2 separate regions of the Homo sapiens genome follow, and region 2 is linked to region 1. The links are contacts of gene promoters, found by promoter capture Hi-C in human tissues and cell types (Jung and others, 2019). All regions are on one chromosome and are shown on one strand. Each heading gives the region's core, a stretch centred on a gene start or on the middle of the fragment in contact. The rest is flanking DNA. Distances are from core to core; before and after follow the strand shown.

What was found. Contacts are between HindIII fragments. The study calls those that stand out against the background at their distance.
Region 2: a fragment that was not itself captured here is called in contact with the fragment with the promoter of BCL9 in region 1 in 1 of the 25 tissues and cell types used here (thymus).

Annotation. Positions count from the first base shown.
Region 1 is chr1:147,539,179-147,543,187 of GRCh38, forward strand. BCL9 (BCL9 transcription coactivator) reads left to right here and starts at 2,323. Exons shown (of 10, transcript NM_004326.4): 1 at 2,323-2,496. RefSeq lists enhancers at 1,981-2,275, 1,994-2,748, 2,309-2,368. The HindIII fragment of the contact is 6,993 bases long and covers 1,777-4,009 here.
Region 2 is chr1:147,503,851-147,508,244 of GRCh38, forward strand. All of the region lies in intron 3 of LINC00624 (long intergenic non-protein coding RNA 624), which reads right to left. Among named protein-coding and RNA genes, the nearest start is that of LINC00624, 12 kb to the right of the region's middle. RefSeq lists enhancers at 1-707, 708-1,553. The HindIII fragment of the contact is 4,397 bases long and covers 1-3,965 here.

The DNA.
Region 1 (4,009 bases), core at 1,073-3,572:
TGCCTGGGAGGCCTCATTGTGTATAGTGAGTCACCACCACTTAGAAGTGGACAGTGAGTCAGTAGCCTATTAAGGGGAGGTCAGAAGTTCCCCTGGCTCAAAATGAAAGGATCCAAACCCAACCCTGGGGTACAGAAAAAACAGTGTACTTATATGGCTGACTGGACTTGAAGTGCCATGGAGTACCTGGACTACTCCAGTGAGAAGGCATAATATGGCGGGTAAACGCTGGGGCTTTAGAATCACACAGGCCTCAGTTGGATTTCAGCTCTACCTCTGCCTTGCTGTGTGACCTCAGACAAGTTGCTTAACCTCTCTGTGCCTCGTTTTTCTATCATCTGTAAATGGAAATGATCATAACAAAAATTACTTCATGATACAAATGAGTGGGAAAATGCTAAGAATCAAGTAAATACTTAAAAAAAGGTTATTATTATTATTATTATATTACCACATCATCATCATTAATGGGAGTCGGGACAGACAGTTCAGGGATCAGGGATAATGGAGGAGCAAATTAAGGGGGAAAATAACAGGAACAAGTCTGTGTCTTTGATGTGGTGAGTTTTAGGTAGTGACACCTCATTTAGCTGGTGTTAAGTATGAAAGAAGTCATAATTTATTCTTTACTGCATACCTATGAAGGAATGAGTGATGTGTGTTCTCATAATTTCCATTTTGTAAAGGAAGATTCTGAGGAATAGAGTCTAAACAATCTTCATGAAAAAGTACAGAACTGATTCAGCAGCAGTTAGGAGCTAAGCTTCCATTCAGATCCTGTTGCATAGGGATAACTCTTCTGGCCTAGGCAGAGGAGACCTTGTTAGGTCTGTGAGTCCACAGTATCTAAAAATATGAATGTCATATAATCATCCTGTCATTCTTCTTCCTGATCTCAATTGGCCCTCCTGATTTCATGCCATCTGCAAATTTGCACATCCTTTGTGCTCCTTTTTGCTCACATTTTATGCCTTCTTTTACCATCTCATTTACTCTGCATGTTTCAATCTTTCTGGGCTTCCATTTTTCTTCTTTTTTTAATGCAGTGTTGTTTCTCTCTCTCTCTCTCTCTCTCTCTCTCTCTCTCCACTCCTTTACAGCCCCCACCTCCTCCCTCCACACCAATCAAATTCCTGCTTGTTTCTTGCCATATTCATTATCCTACCTCATTCCCCTCTTATTCCTAGAAAACAGCACACTCACCCTCCCCTCCTCCAACTCTCAGGCCCACCCTCCATAAATTCCAGCAGCCTGGCAATCAGTAACTTTAGCATCACACTTCACAGCTCTCCTAGTTTACACTACTTGTTACTACTCTCCTTGCTACTGCTCTCTAGGGTTTCTGCTAAAATAAAAAATAAAAAAAAATAAAAAAAGCTTCACTTTAAAAATATCTTGGGTACAAGTTGAACCTACAGTTAAGTTTACTCACACATTTACACATTTCATGATTTTATTTTAACTAGTAGCTCAAGTCCATGCTCAATTATGCAGTGAAAGAAGGCTAGATCCTTAGGAAACAAATTTTTCTCTATTGTAAAGAAGAAAAATCACCTAACCACTCAACAGAAACCCCAGTCCTGGGGCCACTCACCCTCTTATCTCCCTACTCCCCCAATCTCCAGCTAATGGGACTTTGCTTTTTCCTTTGTCGGGTCATTTATTTCACTTTTCCTGGCGCTGAGATGGCCTGAGTCTGTGTATGTGTGCACACGTGTGTGGCCACTGCTTTTCTTCCAAAGGACTCACCTCTCTTCTGCCATTTTACTAGGACACAGGAGGCGGCTCTCTGCTCTCGCTCTCCCTCTCTTTTTCTCCCTGCCCCCAACTCAGCCTGGGCTTTTTCCTGTCTCTTAACTCCACCAGTGCAGCAGCAACTAGCTGAGCTGCTTGAGAGAGAGAGAGAAGAGAGAGAGAGAGAAGAGAGAGAGAGAGAGAGAGGAGAGAGAGAGAGAGAGAGAGAGAGAGAGAGAGAGAGAGAGAGAGAGAGAGAGAGAGAGTGTGTGTGTGTGTGTGTGTGTGTGTGTGTGTGTGTGTGTGTGTGCCTGCGTGCGCAGCTAGGCCAAGCCTGCGAGCCTGCCTGTCACTGGAGAGTTTTAGTTTGCATTCAGAAGAAAGGAGGAGGGGAGACAAGAGGGGAGGAGGAAAAGGTGGAGGGGGGAGGAGTGGGGGGGCGCAGAGAAGGGAGGGAGAATGTCTTGTTTGTGGCTTGTCAGCAATTGCTTGAGACAAGCTTCCATGTGTGAAAGCTACTTGGCATGAATGCCTGGGCCGTACCAAGTGTCACCGCAGCAAGAGGGGGAGTCAGAAGAAAAACAGATCAGACCAGAGCAGACAATAGGCCCCTAAAGTGTTCCCCCTAAGTTGCTTTGATGTTGTCCTGGTGTCTTGATACCAGGAGGCCAGGGATTGCGGGAAAAGGGTCTTTTTTGTCTTCATTCACTTTCCCCCCTCAGTTTCTGAAATGATTCTCCAGAATTTCTCCTCATAAAAAAGGTAAGAGCCCTAACAATTCCTTCTTCGGTGGCAGGCTTGTTCGCCTGTGCCTGGAAGTGGGGGTCTCATTCCTGCGCTGCTCTGGAGGAGCGCTGGGGTCCTGCGATTGGAGCTCCTGCGTTGCCCCTGGAAGTCTTTCAAGGCATCCAGGACTGGGGATGGCCCCTCTTTCGAGGGAACCCCAGTAACACGATCTGTGCCTCTGGGTTGGTGGGGGAGAAGGGGTGGATGGAGAGGGCTGGGAGGAGGGTGTGAGGGTGGGAGGGAAAAGAGAGAGAGAGAGGGAGCGCGAGAGAGGGAAGCCTGGAAAAGAGGGAGAGAAGGGCAGAGCCTTGGTTCAGGGAAACCCCAGCCCAGAGCCCAGGGAGGCCTTGCAGGCTCCGAGCTGTGCATTCTCAGGCTGAGCAAGGGCCGGCCAGGGCTCCGCCGAGTGACTGCAGAGATTGCATCGAGCTTTGTGTGTGCCAGTGTGCCCGTGGGTCTGTGTGTGCGTGTGGACTTCCCACACACTGCCCTGGCGTGCCTCGCTGTGAAGGGGAGGCACCCCGATCCTTACCACCCCAGCCCAGACTCTCCGAGGAGGAGCGGCATGGCAGGCAAGAAGGGAGAGCAAGAGAACTCTGCCACAAGACGATCCAGAAACTTTTCCAGTCTCAGGGATTCCTCTGGTCGTAGAGACTGTTGAGTTGTGGGGTGCCCCGTGCCTCAATTTCCCCATCTGTAAAATCAAGGTTGCTGATCAGGGATGCTGTATGCCTCCCTGGGATTGAGCGAAACAGAACAGATCACTGTGTCTGAAACGCGTGGAGAAATCGTCAGCTAGAGATGCTGTGGAATCACAGAGTAGAAGTGTTATCATTATTCTTGATCATCATCATCAGGGTAATAAAAACATCATTAAAGACACCCTGAGACAAATAGACTGAGGAGCACAGATCAAGTGTCTGAGCATTTCTAAGGAAACAAAAAGCCTTGTTCCACCTGTTGGCTTCTGTCCTTTTTCTCTTGTGTCTTTTCGTTAGATTTATTGGCCGATTTGTACAGAGAATGGGGTGGGAGGGGTTGGGTTTTCCCCTTTCCTCCTCCTTGTACGTATTTTTGTTTTAAAGAAGGTCAATGTAAGATGCTTGAGCGAGAAAATGTGCCTCCTGGTATAGTAGTTTATTCAAGACCTTGTGTTTTCTGGGGCTGGCAGGGCATGCAGACGCATCTGTAAACTCTACCTTGGAGGTTAAAGATTTTTATTGTGGCTTTTAGAGATTAAATGAGATTTATTTACAATTGCTGTTTATCAGAGAGTAAATATCTTACTGTGTGTGTACGAGGCTAAGAATGTGAAGGCTGTTTACTCGCCGGTGGTTTTGTGGATAAAACCTTTTGCTTTTTCAAGTGACATCTTGAGGGATGGAACAGAGGGCTAAAATCAGTGCCTAACATTCATCTTAACAATTTTTTTTGAGGAAAAAAAATGTCTGCTTATTTTCTTGAATTGTGGATTTCCTTTCTTCTGTTC
Region 2 (4,394 bases), core at 517-3,016, 36 kb before region 1:
TTGGAGCTTTACATACATTCTTATCCTACTGAAATAAGGACTTAACTAAGGCCAAGGATGAGTTGGAATGAATCAGTATTCCAAGCCTCAGGCCTAAGAACCTAGCATTGTTGGCATTCTTTTTCTTTTTTTTTTTTTTTTTTTTTTTTGAGATGGAGTCTCGCTCTGTTGCCCAGGCTGAACTGCAGTGGCGCGATCTTGGCTCACTGCAAGCTCCACCCGCCGGGTTCACACCATTCTCCTGCCTCAGCCTCCCGACTAGCTGGGACTACAGGTGCCCACCACCATGCCCGGCTAATTTTTTGTATTTTTTAGTAGAGATGGGGTTTCACCGTGTTAGCCAGGATGGTCTCGATGATCCGCCCACCTCGGCCTCCCAAAGTGCTGGGGTAACAGGCGTGAGCCACCACGCCCTGCTGCATTGTTGGCATTCTTGCCATAGCTCTGGTTCTACTTTGTCACATTCAGCCCCCACTCGCTGAGCACCTACTGTGTGCCAAGCACCCTCCAAGGCCTCACAACCTGGTTTATATTCCAGACGTCCTAGCTGGCCTTTCTAAAGCACCATAATTGTGTACATGGGCGTGCAATCCCCATTCAACCTTAATTCTCCTGCTCTTCTCCAGGAGCTGATTTCTGACTCACAAACTCATACCCAAGTCAGCCATAACGCCGATGTACTTCCCTGGTGTGTGCGCTGAAGGATGGGTTGGAGGAGGCAACAGTGACACTGGTTCAGATATTGAAAGCCTCCTTAGGGTCTGGGCCTCTGCCCTCGCACCTAGCAACCAGGGCCACAGAAATCATTAACACAGTGCACTGATTTCCTTCTATTTCTCGGGTGCTGAGAAATGAAGGTAAATTAAAGAGAAGACGCGTATAAATAGGCCACTTTAACAAGTGATCATATTCACACCCAGGAACCACAATAACAAATCGGAACAACAGAGAAACATAGCGCGCTAATGAGACCGGAAGGCTGTTTCAGTTTCTGGGCTCTGCTCACTTGTGTTTTGAAAGGGCGAAGCAACTCAGTTGCAGGAATGTCCTGGGGGAGAAAATTCCACCAGGACGGACTATTATCAAGTTGTCACGGAGGAGGTGGGAAAAGGCTGCCAAAGAGAGTCTGACTCGTAGACTGCTCTCAGAAGGAATCAATGCTGGGTCTGATCAGAGCTCATCCTCTTTCATGCTGCCTGATTTTTTGAGAAATAACGCCCAGGGTTACACTGCATCATTGCAAACTCACCAGCCAGCCCCAGTCAGAGCTAGAGACCAGGCAGGGGAGAGCAAATGTAATCTGACCCTACCACCTGCTGGCTAGCTGGCTGGAGGGCGGGTACGGAAGGCAGGCCATGTTTGAGAATCTTTGTTGAGGCTTTGCTTCATCCCCCTCCCTCCCCCATCCTCCCACAGAATTGCTTATTCCTCTGGCAAAACCCTGATTCTCAGTGCCAAGCTTCTCCATGCATAAAATAAGGATGATAACATTTGTTTTCCACTTTTTCAGTGTCTTGTGAGACTTCATCTGCTAATATTTATAAAGCATCTCAAACTTCTTCAGTGAAAGGTGACAATCTGTAAGCACCTTGAACTGCCATTGACAACTGACATTTATTGAGCATGGACTTCGGATCAGACCGTGTACCAGGTAATTTATATACATGTTATTCAATTCAGTCCTGGTACAACAGCCTGGTAAAGTAGATGTTGTTATTCCTGTCTGGCAAAGAAAAGGAAACCCAGAAATGTCAAGTAACCTTGCCTAAATGCACACAGGTAAAAAGAGTCATGATTGAGTCTGATTCAAAGATTTCCCAATATGTGGCTCAGCCTCTCTCATACACTTTGCTTTGAATCTCCTTTGATTGTGTGTTCATTTATCCAATGAGCCGCTATGTGCCAGGCATTCTTTCCCTATCTTTCATCATCTACCCTTTTCCATGTCTCTGTGTGTACGTATCTGTTTCTATGTGTCTTTCTCCAATTTTTGTCACACACACACACACACACACACACACACCGAGCCAGGTGGAGACCAGTGTTCTCATCCTATAGCCCAGTTATAGGGCACCCAGCTTTTCTGGGCCTACGCCACAAGGTTTATTACCCTCCACTAGCAGGGGCAGCCCCATCTCTTGGCACAAATCCCAGGGACCCCCATACCTGGCGCTGCTTAGGGGTCCAGTTCATCTACCTGAAACTGAGTGAGCTTTCCTTGGCAAATTCTGAAGAAGTTTTTTCATTCATTGTTTGCTACAATTCATTTGACAATAAATCATATATTGCTTTGTGGCAGCTCTTCCATTGTTGCCTTAAACAACTGTTCAGCACTTAAATTTTTCTCATGTTTATGTCTTGTTCCTGGAAGCAAGAGTCGTGTCTTATGTCTCTGTTTCATCTGCAGTCCCCACAGGCTTGACACGTGAGAGGCATTCAAGAAACATTTGTTGATTTTATATTCAACTTCCTCCCGTTCCTGGGAATGGGTCTGCCTAATTACCCTTCCTGACAAATTCTGTGCCTTGCTATATATTCCTATCTCCCCATACCCCATCCTTTCTTTCTATTTTTATTTTTTTCATTCCTTCCTCTCCTCAGTTAACTAAGCAGAAATCATGGAGTTAGGTTTATTTGTTAAATTATCTTCCTTGGGTCCTATAGGTGGAAAGAAAACAAAATTTGGAGTCTGACAATCTGAGTTCGGGTCACTATGTGACAACAGAGTTCACTGGCTGTGTGTCCTCAGCCTAACTACCGAACTCGTCTGAAAATCCATTTCTCCCAAAATTACTATCTCCAGGTCTTCTCATCTCAGACCATGCTCCTGAAACATACCTTGCAAAGGTCATCAATGTCCTACCTACAGCCAAATCCAATAGACTGTTTTCAGCCTTTTTATTTTGACCTCAGTACATTTGTCTTTATTTATGTATTTATTTTTTGCAGAGACAAGGTCTCACTTTGTTGCCCAGGCTGGCCTTGAACTCCTGGGCTCAAGAGATCCTGCCATCTCAAGTCTCCCAAAGTGCTGGGATTACAGGCGTGACCCACTTCACCTGGCCCATTTGTCCTTATTGACCAGTTTTTTCTTGTCTCAACACTCTTCCCTCATGCCATCAACTTCATCTCATGTTCTTCTGAGTACTCTACTTGTTTTTTTTCATTGTTATCATTCTTCTTACTAAAACATGAGCTAACCTTAATTGATGCTTACTATGTGCCAGAATTGCGATAAACTTTCTAGGTACTGCTCCGTAAGGTAGGTGCTATTACTGTCCTTGTTAGAGATGAAAAGACCATGGCTCAGAGAGGTGACCTAACTTGCCCAGAGACATATGGCCAGAATATACTCTCTCAACAGAACAACATGCTTCTTCAACTCCTTTATGGGTTCTCCTTCTCTTCTTTTTACTTTTGAAGTTCCTTGGAGCTCTATCCTGGGCCTGTTTCTCCTCTGTCTACTCTCCCTGGCAATCTCAGCTACTTCTTTGTCTTTAATAACCAACCATGTAGCAATAGTTCCATATTGCCATCTTCAGCCCATGCTCCTCTCCTGAGATCCAGATCTTTGTCTTCAACTACTTACTGGACAGTGTGATACATGATGTTTCCGACATGACATGTCTTAAACTGCATTAGTCAACTCTCCCTCAAAACCTGCTTTTCCTCTCAGGCTTCCTACCTCAGTAAAGTCATCCACCCACTGCCATCCACCAACTGCCATCCGCCAACTGCCCAAGTGAGAAAGCTCAATGTCGTCTTCTTTACCTCTCATTCATCCTTCTTAACATGGCTTCCAAGACCCTTCAAGACTTGGTTCCTTCCTCTTTCCAGTTTCATTTCTTCCGATTCATCCCCTGACATTCTTCATCCAGCTGTGATCACCAAAGTGTGGGTCCTAGAGTAAGGCAAATTCACTTGCTTGCTTTCTCTGATTTTCTCTGACCTTCTCGTGTCTGGGTCTGCAATAAATTGTACCTCTAGCTGTAACATGCTTCCATCTCTTACCCCTCACCTAAGCTCATCTTTATTTACTAGGTCTCATCTTAAATGTCACTTCTTTTGAAAATACTTGCCTAGACCACCTCAGATCTTCCTGCTGGCTGTGCCCAGCTACCCTTACCGAAGCATAATCCTGTCAATGGCAATTACTTTTCAACTGTTGATATAGTCTTGTCTATTGTAGTATCTCCAGTATCCAGCACAGTGCCTTGTGCATAAAAGGCTCTCAAAATATGTTGAGCAAATGAATGAATTATAAAATAGAGTTAGCTAAAACTACTTCTCAGTAACATTAGGTAACTGTGGAAATTATGAGATAATATGTGTGATTATACTTTGTAAACTGTAAAATTCTAGAACAAACTCCATAGTGATAAAAAGAATTATGC